Linked DNA regions of Homo sapiens: all the other regions are linked to region 1. The links are contacts of gene promoters, found by promoter capture Hi-C in blood cells and fetal thymus (Javierre and others, 2016). All regions are on one chromosome and are shown on one strand. Each heading gives the region's core, a stretch centred on a gene start or on the middle of the fragment in contact. The rest is flanking DNA. Distances are from core to core; before and after follow the strand shown. Region 1 holds the start of TSSK4 (testis specific serine kinase 4). Region 2 overlaps RBM23 (RNA binding motif protein 23). Region 3 has its middle 11 kb from the start of PSMB5.

The links. The method cuts DNA at HindIII sites, captures the fragments that hold promoters and counts their contacts. A CHiCAGO score of 5 or more calls a contact.
Region 2: a contact is called between a fragment that was not itself captured here and the fragment with the promoter of TSSK4 in region 1, in 1 of 17 cell types (activated CD4 T cells). The highest score is 6.2, in activated CD4 T cells.
Region 3: a fragment that was not itself captured here is called in contact with the fragment with the promoter of TSSK4 in region 1 in 1 of 17 cell types (total B cells); the score reaches 5.3 in total B cells.

What each region holds. Positions count from the first base shown.
Region 1 is chr14:24,203,826-24,207,458 of GRCh38, reverse strand. TSSK4 (testis specific serine kinase 4) reads right to left here and starts at 1,763. Exons shown (of 4, transcript NM_001184739.2): 1 at 1,311-1,763; 2 at 736-950; 3 at 1-343. The coding sequence starts at 1,535. RefSeq lists an enhancer at 3,232-3,633. The HindIII fragment of the contact is 3,453 bases long and covers 1-2,482 here.
Region 2 is chr14:22,890,028-22,893,660 of GRCh38, reverse strand. It overlaps RBM23 (RNA binding motif protein 23), which reads left to right. Exons shown (of 14, transcript NM_001077351.2): 14 at 1-457. Among named protein-coding and RNA genes, the nearest start is that of REM2, 8.6 kb to the right of the region's middle. The HindIII fragment of the contact is 1,862 bases long and covers 1,132-2,993 here.
Region 3 is chr14:23,022,180-23,025,812 of GRCh38, reverse strand. No RefSeq gene overlaps it. Among named protein-coding and RNA genes, the nearest start is that of PSMB5, 11 kb to the left of the region's middle. RefSeq lists an enhancer at 607-696. The HindIII fragment of the contact is 3,160 bases long and covers 405-3,564 here.

The sequences.
Region 1 (3,633 bases), core at 514-3,013:
AGTCTCTCTTAGCAGCTTTTTGAGATTGGTGTCATCAAAGGGCAGATGGGCGACCACTAGAGTGTAAAGGATGACGCCCATGCTCCAGGTGTCAGACAGGAAAGGGTTGTAGGGCAAGCCTCGTAAGATCTCTGGGCAAGCGTAAGCAAAGCTGCCACAGTAAGTCTGGCTGAGGTGGGAAAAGCAGTTCACTTGGCGGTAAGAAGGGCTACAACCCACAGGCTGGTTAGAAGGCACCATCTTGGCAAAGCCAAAGTCTGATATCTTCACATTCTCCCACTTGTCCAGCAACAGGTTCTCCAACTTTAAGTCCCTACCAGCAGCAGAAAGGCTGGGCATCAGGCTGGGGAGAGGGCTTAGTTTTAGACTGGGAGCTGAAGGGCCAGGGGTCAGAGGGTAAAGATGAGGACAGAGGAAGTGGGAGGTAGAAACCATTATGAGGGCACAAGGTAGAGAGGAAGGAAAGCCATGGAGTTGTGAGCAGAGCCCAAAGTAGGGAGAGAGACAGAGGATGGTATCTGAGGACCACCGGGAGCTCACCATTGTATTTCATAAAATGCTTTGCATACAGTGAGTACTTTATCAGTATCCTTGACCATATGATTAAAATAGAGTGCATGAATAGGCTAGATATTGAGGAGGGAGTTCGAAAGAGGAAAAAAGGACAGGAAATGGGAGATGTGCATAAAACCCCCTTGAGGGCAAAGGCCCCAGTCTGGGTGGCAGCGCCCTCACCGGTGCACGATGCTCTTGCTGTGCAGGTAGGCAATGCCCAGGGTCAGCTGGGAGAACCACTTGCCAGCAAGGGGCTCAGAGCAGGCCCCGTAGCGCTGGATCCATTCAAGGACATCACCACCCTGAGCCAGTTCCAGAATGATGTATACTCGAGATGTGCTCTCAATGGCCCGATAGAAGTTGATGAGGTACTTGTGCCGCAAGACTTTCATTACCTGACCCCAGAAGAAGGACCCATCAAACCTGGGAAGGGAGAACCCTGACTGCACTCCCAGCCGTCTCCTACCCTCAGCTACTGACTTAGGACTTTGCAATAGGATCAGCCCCTCAACCCCAGAGAACTGGTGGCCTGTGGGCAAATGCTATGTTTTGTGCCTTTACTTTTTGGGGACTGAAGGTGAGTGGGTGGATGGGAAAGAGGTTTAACTTACATAAAGTTTCCTAGCTGCTTAGTGAGACATTTCAGTTCTGGTTTAGGGGTTTCTGGCCCCACCCCTCCTGGCCATACCCCTTCTGAGAAACCTCAAGCAGCTTAGTACCAAGCTCCAGTTCCCTCTTCCAGCCCCCTTTCCAACCTGTATTTCACGGGGCAGGAACTTGTTAAGATAGTCATCAGAGGCCTTCTTCTTTGAGATGATCTTGACTGCCACCATAACCTTCTGCTTTGTGTAGAAAGCCTCATATACCGACCCATAGGAGCCATGGCCAATGGCCTTGCCCACCTCATAACCATATTCATCCATGAGGGAATGGTAGGCTGTGGTGGTTGGTGCTGCCTCTAAGACATCTCCCTTCCCCATGGTGTTGGGCTTGCTGAGAGCAGGGAGCTTTACTACTTGGAAGCCTCCTATCCAAAGGCCAACACCTTGAGCTGCTGAAGGCTAGGGTATCAAAGTGAAGTAGGTCCCCAAATGCTTGCCTATATAGTCACACGAGTCTGGGATGCTGGACTCAGCCCTCCACTAGGAACTTGGAGGGGGAAAGAAAGAGAAGCAGTTCTTTTTGTCTCCACTGGCTGTTGTTACTTTCTCCTTTTGGTTACGGAACTCCTCAAGGTCCCATGTTCCGAATACATCACAATCCACCTCCTATCCATCGTTGGCCACAAAACTTGAGAATGAAGTGCGGCCGGGCGCGGTGGCTCACGCCTGTAATCCCAGCACTTTGGGAGGCCGAGGCGGGCGGATCACGAGGTCAGGAGATCGAGACCATCCCGGCTAAAACGGTGAAACCCCGTCTCTACTAAAAATACAAAAAATTAGCCGGGCGTAGTGGCGGGCGCCTGTAGTCCCAGCTACTTGGGAGGCTGAGGCAGGAGAATGGCGTGAACCTGGGAGGCAGAGCTTGCAGTGAGCCGAGATTGCGCCACTGCACTCCAGCCTGGGCGACAGAGCGAGACTCCGTCTCAAAAAAAAAAAAAAAAAAAAAGAGAATGAAGTGCAGTTGGAAACGTACTCATTCCCAGAGGCACCTTCCACAGTCTGGTGAAACTCCTAAAGATCAGACCTTTCATTGATATATGAGTACCTACTAAGTACCAGACACTGTGCTGAATACTTGGATAAAATGTCACCCAAATGTCATGCCAGACCCTTCCTCCTTCCTCAATCCCTACATACAATCTTTCATCAAATCCTGTCTCTGCTATCTCCTACTTATCTCTTTAATGATACACTCAAGGCTTTCCGAGCCCATTGCAGCCCCCTTAGTTCAATAAGGCCAATAGAGACACTATGATCCTAAAGCTTATAATGCAGCATGAGAAATACGAGTGTGAAAGTATTACCATTGTAAGGTATTGAACATGTTCTAGGAAAATCTAACCTTGAAATGCATCCTTATCTTCTATGAGCCAGAACTCTCTAGTTTTCCTCCACATCCTTCTGGTCACTCCTCAGCCTTCACTGAAGTTATATCTTTCTCTATCCATCCCTTAATCATATCCCAAGTGTTACATCACAAGCTTTATTTTCTCAAACCTTCACATCCTCCCTTAATCTTGTCCATACCCATGGTGTCAATACTACATTTATGCTGACTGCTCCTAATTTCATCTCCATCCCATATATCTGGAGTTTAGATAGAGCAGCCAGTATTACGTGGCCATGTCTGCCCCAGGCATGGAACTTACCATATCCATCTCAAACTTAACCATATCAATAATTGAACTTATTTTCTTCTCTCAGACTTTTCTGTGAGTTGTACACTAATCACCCTTAATTTAGACACTCATATGTCATCCCAGACCCTCCTGCCTCAGTCCCTACATTCAATCTATCACGAAATCCTATCTCTTATACCTCCTGATTCTCTCTTTGATAATATTCTCATGGTTTTCTGAGCCCACTGCTAATCCCTTAGTTCACGCCTCCATCATCGAACAGATGGCCCCCGCCAGCCTTCTGCTCCACTCCAGTCTGTCCATCCCAAGTCCAAAGCATAAATCTGATTTTATTTCCATTTGAAACAATTCAGTGTCTCCCCATTCTCTTTAGGATCAAGTCCATCCAAATTCTTTCACACAGCTTTAAGTCTGATCCTGCTTACCTCCCCAATTTTATTTTTTAACACACACGTAATGATCCACAACTGCTTTTCTGTATTTGTGGCAAACTCCAAATCTTCCTTGAGAACTTGGCATAGGACCTTTTTTCTCTTTTTTTTTTTTTGAGATGGAGTTTCGCTCTTGTTGCCCAGGCTGGAGTGCAATGGCACGATCTTGGCTCACTACAACCTCCAACTCCTGGGTTCAAGCGATTCTCCTGCCTCACCCTCCCTAGTAGCTAGGATTACAGACATGCACCACCATGCCTAGCTATTTTGTATGTTTAGTAGAGACAGGGTTTCTCCATGTTGGTCAGGCAGGTCTTGAACTCCCGACCTCAGGTGATCTGCCCA
Region 2 (3,633 bases), core at 813-3,312, 1.3 Mb after region 1:
GTGCATTTGCTCATGTAGTTTGACCACAAGGAATGCTTTTCCTTCTTTCTCTCAACTATCTATAGCCTACATATCCTTTAAGGCCCAGTTTCTAAAATATGTCTTCCAAATTTACTGTTTCTTCCATTCAGAATTCCTGGAGCACATGAGGTAGCCCCCAGTTAGATAGAATGTGGTATTGTTTGCTGCTATTTTGCCTGTTTTGTGCTGTATCACCTCATCCATCTCCCCAGCTTAATTGCAAGCTATTTGACGGGCAGAAATTGTGTCTTATTTGTATTTGTTTTCCCCATTGGGCCCGGCACACTGATTGGCATATTGCAGATGTTTAGTACTTGAGAGAAACAAAATGTCTTCTAGCATTTGTGGATGAAAGATTAAAATGTCCAGGAAAATTTACTTAGATTGATGTGGATTGAAACTATATTAGATTAATAAAAAGATGTGTGTGTGTGAACTTCCTGGGAGTGAGGGTTTAACCCAGAGGACTTCCACGTATGACCCCGGCAGTCTTTCAGAAGAGAAGAGCCCCTGTTCCAGTCTCTCTAGAGGGCTCAGATGCAGCACGGCCTAAAAGCTCATCTGTAGGCAGAGGCCCAGAGTGGAAAAATTTCCAGATGCAGGACTCCCCCGTTCCTCTGACCCTCAGGGGAGAGCACACAAAGTCTATGCTCTGGGCCAATGAGGCGGTCTTGTGGGCAAAGGGGAGTGGGAGTAGCAGGGGCTGGGCAGGGGCTGGTAAGGGAACACGGACTCCAAGACAAAATTGCAGTGGTTAAGAGATGCATGAGGACAGAAAGGACCTTACCTGGCATGGCAGCTCAGGTCCCAGTGCCCTCTGCTGACCTCTCACCCCAGCCAAGATCAATGGCTCTACTTTGCCTTGAGAGAGAAAGAGAGAATGGCCTGGCTCTCAGAGAAGGCCTCACCTCTCCCAAGTCTGGCGGGAGCCTGGCTTCAGCTTCCGTCTGTTCTGAGCTATTCCCTGTAGGCGTCTGGAGGGAACACACAGATGGGTCGGGCTGATGGGACTGGCTGAGTTGGGGGAGGGAGGCTCATGGTGTGTGGCTCCCCTCGTGGGGGAGGTCTTGCCATCATGGTCTTCCATACACGAAAGACATGTTTTAAGCTTCTGCCACGTAAAAGGCACTGGGCCTTTCTTGTTCCTCATCCTCCTCTCTGGCCACATCTGACCATTGGTGATACTCTCCTAGAAACCCCTCCTCTGGCAGCAGTCACAACAGGCTCAATCCTAGTTCTCCCACTACCTCTTTGGCAGCTGCTTCTCCACCTTCTCCATCTATATATCCCCAGGATCTCCTTGTTCCCTCTTCTTTCTCTGGACCCCTAAGGCTTTGTTTTAAATTATTTTGTTTCTTTCTTTTTTTTTTTTTGAGACGGAGTCTCTCTCTGTCGCCAGGCTGGAGTGCAGTGGCATGATCTCAGCTCACTGCAACCTCTGCCACCCAGGTTCAAGCGATTCAGCCTCCCGAATAGCTGGGATTACAGGTGCCCACCCCTGCGCCTGATTAATTTTTGTAGTTTTTAGTAGAGATGGGGTTTCGCTATCTTGGCCAGGCTGGTCTTGAACTCCTGACCTCATGATCCACCGGCCTTGGCCTCCCAAAGTGCTGGGATTACAGGCGTGAACCACTGTGCCCGGCCTATTTCGTTTCATTTTTGAAGTGGTACTAAATGACACAGTTAAAAGTTCCAAAGGTAGGCCAGGCGCGGTGGCTCACGCCTGTAATCCCAGCACTTTGGGAGGCTGAGGTGGGTGGATCATGAGGTCAGGAGTTCAAGACTAGCCTGGCCAAGATGGTGAAACCCCCGTCTCTACTAAAAATACAAAAATTAGCTGGGCGTGGTGGTGGGCACCTGTAATCCCAGCTACTCGGGAGACTGAGGCAGGAGAATCGCTTGAACCCAGGAGGTGGAGTTTGCAGTGAGCTGAGATTGTGCCACACTGCACTCCAGCCTGGGCAACAGAGCAAGACTCTGTCTCAAAAAAAAAAAAAAAAATTTCCAAAGGTAGAAAAAGGGCATACAGGCTGGACGCGGTGGCTCAGGCCTGTAATCTCAGCACTTTGGGAGGCTGAGGCAGGCGGATCACCTGAGGTTGGGAGTTTGAGACCAGCCTGACCAACATGGAGAAACCCCATCTCTACCAAAAATACAAAAGTGGCCGGGTGTGGTGGCACATGCCTGTAATCCCAGCTACTCGGGAGGCTGAGGCAGGAGAATCGCTTGAACCCAGGAGGCGGAGGTTACAGTGAGATCGTGCCATTGCACTCCAGCCTGGGCAACAAGAGTGAAACTCCGTCTCAAAAAAGAAAAGAAAAGAAAAGAAAAAGGGCATACAATGAAAAGTCAGCTTCCCATCCTGGTCTTCTACTCACCCAGTTCCCCTTTCCAGAAGCAGCCAGTACCATCTTTTTTTTTTTTTTTTTTTTTTTTGACAGAATCTCACTCTGTTGCCCAGGCTGGAGTACAGTGGCACGATCTCGGCTCACTGCAACCTCCACCTCCTGGGTTCAAACAATTCTCCTGCCTCAGCCTCCCAAGTAGCTGGGATTACAGGCATGTGCCACCATGCCCAGCTAATTTTTGTATTTTTAGTAGAGATGGGGTTTCGTCATGTTGGCCAGGCTGGTCTCGAACTCCTGACCTCAGGTGATCTACCCGCCTCGGCCTCTCAAAGTGCTGGGATTACAGGCATGAGCCATCCTGTGCCTGGCCTGTAACAAACCCTTTTGTGAATCTGATGAAATTCATGAACCCTATTCTCAGACACAGGTATGACTACACAAATACATCAGATTGTATGTACCATTTCACAAGACGCAGACTCCATCAGTAGTCTGGGGTAAGGATCCCAGCCTGTACTGCACCTTCTCCCTTAGTATAATTGTGGATCCCCTTGCAAAATGAAAATACAGGGCTCCTTGTTCGAAGAATTTTAAGAACATAACAGCAGAACATTAAACTAAGCTTAGGGCCCTATGTGACTGCACAGGTCACCTTTTCTCCTTGCTCTTCTACTACTATCTTTATGGTAATTATTCTCAAATCTGTTTCTCTTGTCCCAACTTGTTCTGAATTTCAGATTCAGATTCAACTCTAGAGAGCTGCTGAAACTCTATATAGATGTTCTTCTAGCATCTCAAATTCAGTGTCTCCAAAATGGAGCTCCTTACTCTCACTACCTCCTCTGCCCCTTTACTCCAAGTTCTGCACCATCCTCTCACCACCTACAACTTTTTCCTCTCTTTATACTCATCCACTAAGTTGCCAAGTCCCATTGATTCTGATGCTCAAACCCATGCCTCCTTCCTTTCCCACTGCCACCCCCCTCAGGATGGCCTTTCATTATCCTCTGTATGTATCACTATTAACTGGTCCCTAAACTCAGCTCCTCAGTACTTGCCTCTGCAGCTCCAATCCATACACACCTCTCCCAGCCTCCTCTTCCCAAAAGACCATCCTAATCATGACTTCCACATTCAGATACCTGCAGTGACTCTCCCTGCCTACAGAGTTGGGCACAAACTCTTTTTCCTGGCATTTAAGGTCCTTTACAGTGGGACTCCAAACCTTCTTTTCCATGCTCATCTCTTACCCCTCCTCTTCATG
Region 3 (3,633 bases), core at 735-3,234, 1.2 Mb after region 1:
AAGCACTTTTCAGTCAAATAAGCCAGGACAGTGGAAGGGAAGTGACTGTAATTACAGGAAACAGTGGTGTGAAGACATTGTCTAGTGAATACATTAATGTCCCCACTCATGAAGCTAATAACGGAGAAGGAGAGAGAGGCAGGGAGGAGGGAGACACTTCTCGATTTGGTTTACAAAGAGATGAAAAGTTGATGAGGTGGAAAGATGCACAGGGCTGTACCAGGCAGGGCTCCAGCGGAAAAGGCTGTCACCCTGTGGTGGGGGAAGGGAGGCTGAGGCTACATGCAGAGCGGAAGGGTGAAGAGGGTAAATCTTGACTCTTAAACCAACTGGGAAGGGAAGGCTTGGACCCTGGGAAGGGGAGGACAAAGAAGTGGCTGTGAAAGCAGTAGTAACCACAAGCTTGGTGACCCTTGTCCTTTTGGTCCTCCAGTGCATATGTGTGGAGGGGAGAGGGTAGTGATGGTGATTTTATAGCCTCCTGGTCAGGAAGCAGCACTAAATTGTCACTGGAATGTGTGGGTGGGGAAGAGGCCCTGCTGAGAGCAGAGAGATGGCTGATTTATCACACCCAGCACTGTTGGGGCTGGGGGGAGTTCCCAAGCTATGGTGGCAGCAGATGGCAAGGCCTTCTGTTAAAGAGAAGACAGGGGATAGAGGAGGTTGATGGGAGAAACCTTTAAAAAATGGGAGCGGAGGACACAAACAATACCACCTTGTATTTAGTCAGAAGGCAGAAAGTGGTTGGTGAAGGTGACAACCCAGTGTCATGTTTTGAGACTGAGAGGTTTGGAGAAGTCATTCACAGAAGAAGAGGGGGTAAACCCTCCTCTCCTGTACTGCAGCTACCTTCCCTTCCCCCTCAGCCTTGTGCAGTCTTCGTATTGATTGATGAGGGCTGTCGGCCAGGAACTGATCGAGGCTTGTTAATTGCATTTGTCAAATGCAGGGAAATTGGGAATTAGTGAAATCGGAGAAGGGGGTTTGGAAAACAAATGACTCGTGCCTAAGGAAATTTTTTGCAGGAAAGTATCTCAGGAGCCCCTGCAGTCAGGGAGCTGCTGGTGTGGACTCAGACTACATGGTTGAAATAGGCAGGAGCTGGGCGGGGCACAGTGGCTCAGGCTTGTAATCCCAGCACCAGCACTTTGGGAGACGGAGGCAGGCAGATCACTTGATGCCAGGAGTTTGAGACCAGTCTGGCCAACATGGTGAAACCTGTCTCTACTAAAAATACGAAAAATTAGCTGGGTGTGGTGGCAGGCACCTGTAATCCCAGCTACTTGGGAGGCTGAGGCAGAGGTTGCAGTGAGCCGAGATGGTGCCATTGCACTCCAGCCTGGGCAACAAAAGCAAAACTCCATCTAAAAAAAAAAAGAAAGAAAGAAATAGGCAGGACCCAAGCTACATCTTCCTTCTCGTAGACTGTTGGGAAATGGTTAGCTGCGTGAGAAGCACAGGTAGGTCATCTTCCTCCCACTTAGGACATTGGTTTGCAGATCTTAAAAAAAAAAAAGAAAAAAAAAAAAGCACTCTTAGGAGAAATCCCAATGCCTGAAAAAAAAATCAGAGGTTGAAATTGAGCTGAGAGGTCCAGAGCCTCCACTATTGAGCTTCCCCATCCAGCCACTCCCCGCAGCACCCTTTGTTAGCCCCATACACATACACAGTCCCTGGCACTTCTTGGAACCTCAAGGAACACAATTTGAACACCTCTTCCCTGGGAAATAGCCTTAAGGATAGAAAGAGAATTGAAGATTGGAATTTCCTTACATGACCCCAGAGAGCATAAGACCCCAGCTTTGGTCCATGAACAGAAAATTCATTCTGGAGAGAAGAGATGATCGTGAAACAATGCAACCCTTTGCCCTGTTTCTGTCTCACACTTTGCTTTGGCAGTGGTTTAGCTGTTTAACGGAAACACCTATTCTGCACTGGCAGAGTCCTTATGTTAGAAGAGAAAATGCATGTTCTGTTCTGGCATATCCCTGTTGATCTACCTTCCTGGGTCTTGGGTAAAAGACTCATTTAATGGAAGAGCTCGATTTGTGGTAGGTTTTTCTGGGAAGAAAGTAGAGCAGAGGTAGGGAAAAACTGCAAGTCTGTAGGCTAGTGGTATCCACCCTGTGCATTTGTGATTTCTTGCTGATGGTTACTGGGGGGAAATTGGCTTTGCAGCGATGTGTGTCTCCGCTTGTGTGGGAATGATGGATGCCGCATAGGATTGGAGAGATGTTTTTGAGTGGAGTGTACCAGTTCAGGGACTCCCATCAGATTCATTTCCCAGTACAGTCCTCTTGACAAAGGATGATGGAAAAGAAATCGCCTTAAATAGCTGGAAGATTAATTTCTCTCAGCAGTTCCCAGGCGTCCAAGGGACTGGGCTCTTTAAGTGATGTCTGACAACTTCTCTTCCCTCAACAGATAACTCAGTAACACCAAAATCTGGCTCCTCGGGGTAGGTGATGGGACTAATCTGATTAAATAGGGAGCAAATACTCCTGGAGGCCCCTTGCTTTCTCTTGCTAGCCTTCCAGCATCTGCACACCAGGCAAGGGAGGGCTGTGGGGAGTAGCAGTGCACTGTGGGGTGAGTAGAATGTTCATGAAGGAAGGTGAAAAGGTAGGTGAGGATGTGGGGGAGGAGGGAGGAAGGGCACAGTTAACGCAAATCAAAGACTGAAGGATAATAGTTACTGAGTGTTCCTCTTTAGGCAAAACCAGAAGGTCAGTGTCTCTTGATATCCTCCTCAGCTAGCAAATGAGAAAACTGTCAGAGCCATTTGGGGAGTGGAAGGTCACATCCTCCGAGGGGAAATAAAATAACTGATTTATTCTGGCCCACGGATTCTATGTGGTCTGTTAGGGGAAGGAAGAAAGAGGTGGGATGAAAAGAGAATAAAGTAGAAAAAAAAAGGTGGATGGAAATTTTGAGGGGAGCATTTCCCTTGTGTCAGGAGTAACAAGGATAGGATGATTGGGTTAGGAGAGAATCTACATGACCATATCTAATTTTCGGTGGATACATTTAGGTTTTTAATTTTCTTTTATTTTTGTTTCTTTTGTTAGATCTTCCCCTGACCTGCTCCCAGGGCTATAACAGATACGGACTTTGAAACTGTATGGAGTATAGAGCAGTGCTCTATAATTTAAAATATACATATATTGCAACCAAGCACCTCTGCTGTTTTGCGTTTGTTTCTTGTTTGTTTTTATAAATTCTAGTTTCCCTTCAGGAAGCCAGAATCATACTGGGAATGCTTTAATTATAGTGGGCAAGAGGGAGCTCAAACAGCAATCAGAACTGCCCTGATCAGCAGCTGCTGCCACCTTCTACCTGACCTGGGCCACCCCTCTTTTTCCCCCCAAGTCAGCCTCCCGTGCTCCCCAGGCGTGGCTTCAGAGCCAAGTTCTGGTTTCCAGGAGCTCTGCCCCCACTGAAGCATTTCAATAAAAAACATTTCTAAAATGTCCCCTTTGCAGTTGTTAGTGGGTCAAGCAGAAGAAATTCTACCCACGTCAGCTTCTTGGGCTTATTTGACCCAACTCATTTCTCCCAGAAGCTTTTGCCTCTGAGTTAGGTGCCAAGCTTAAGCTGGTATTTAACTCTTTATGGTCCAGATTAAGCTGTCAT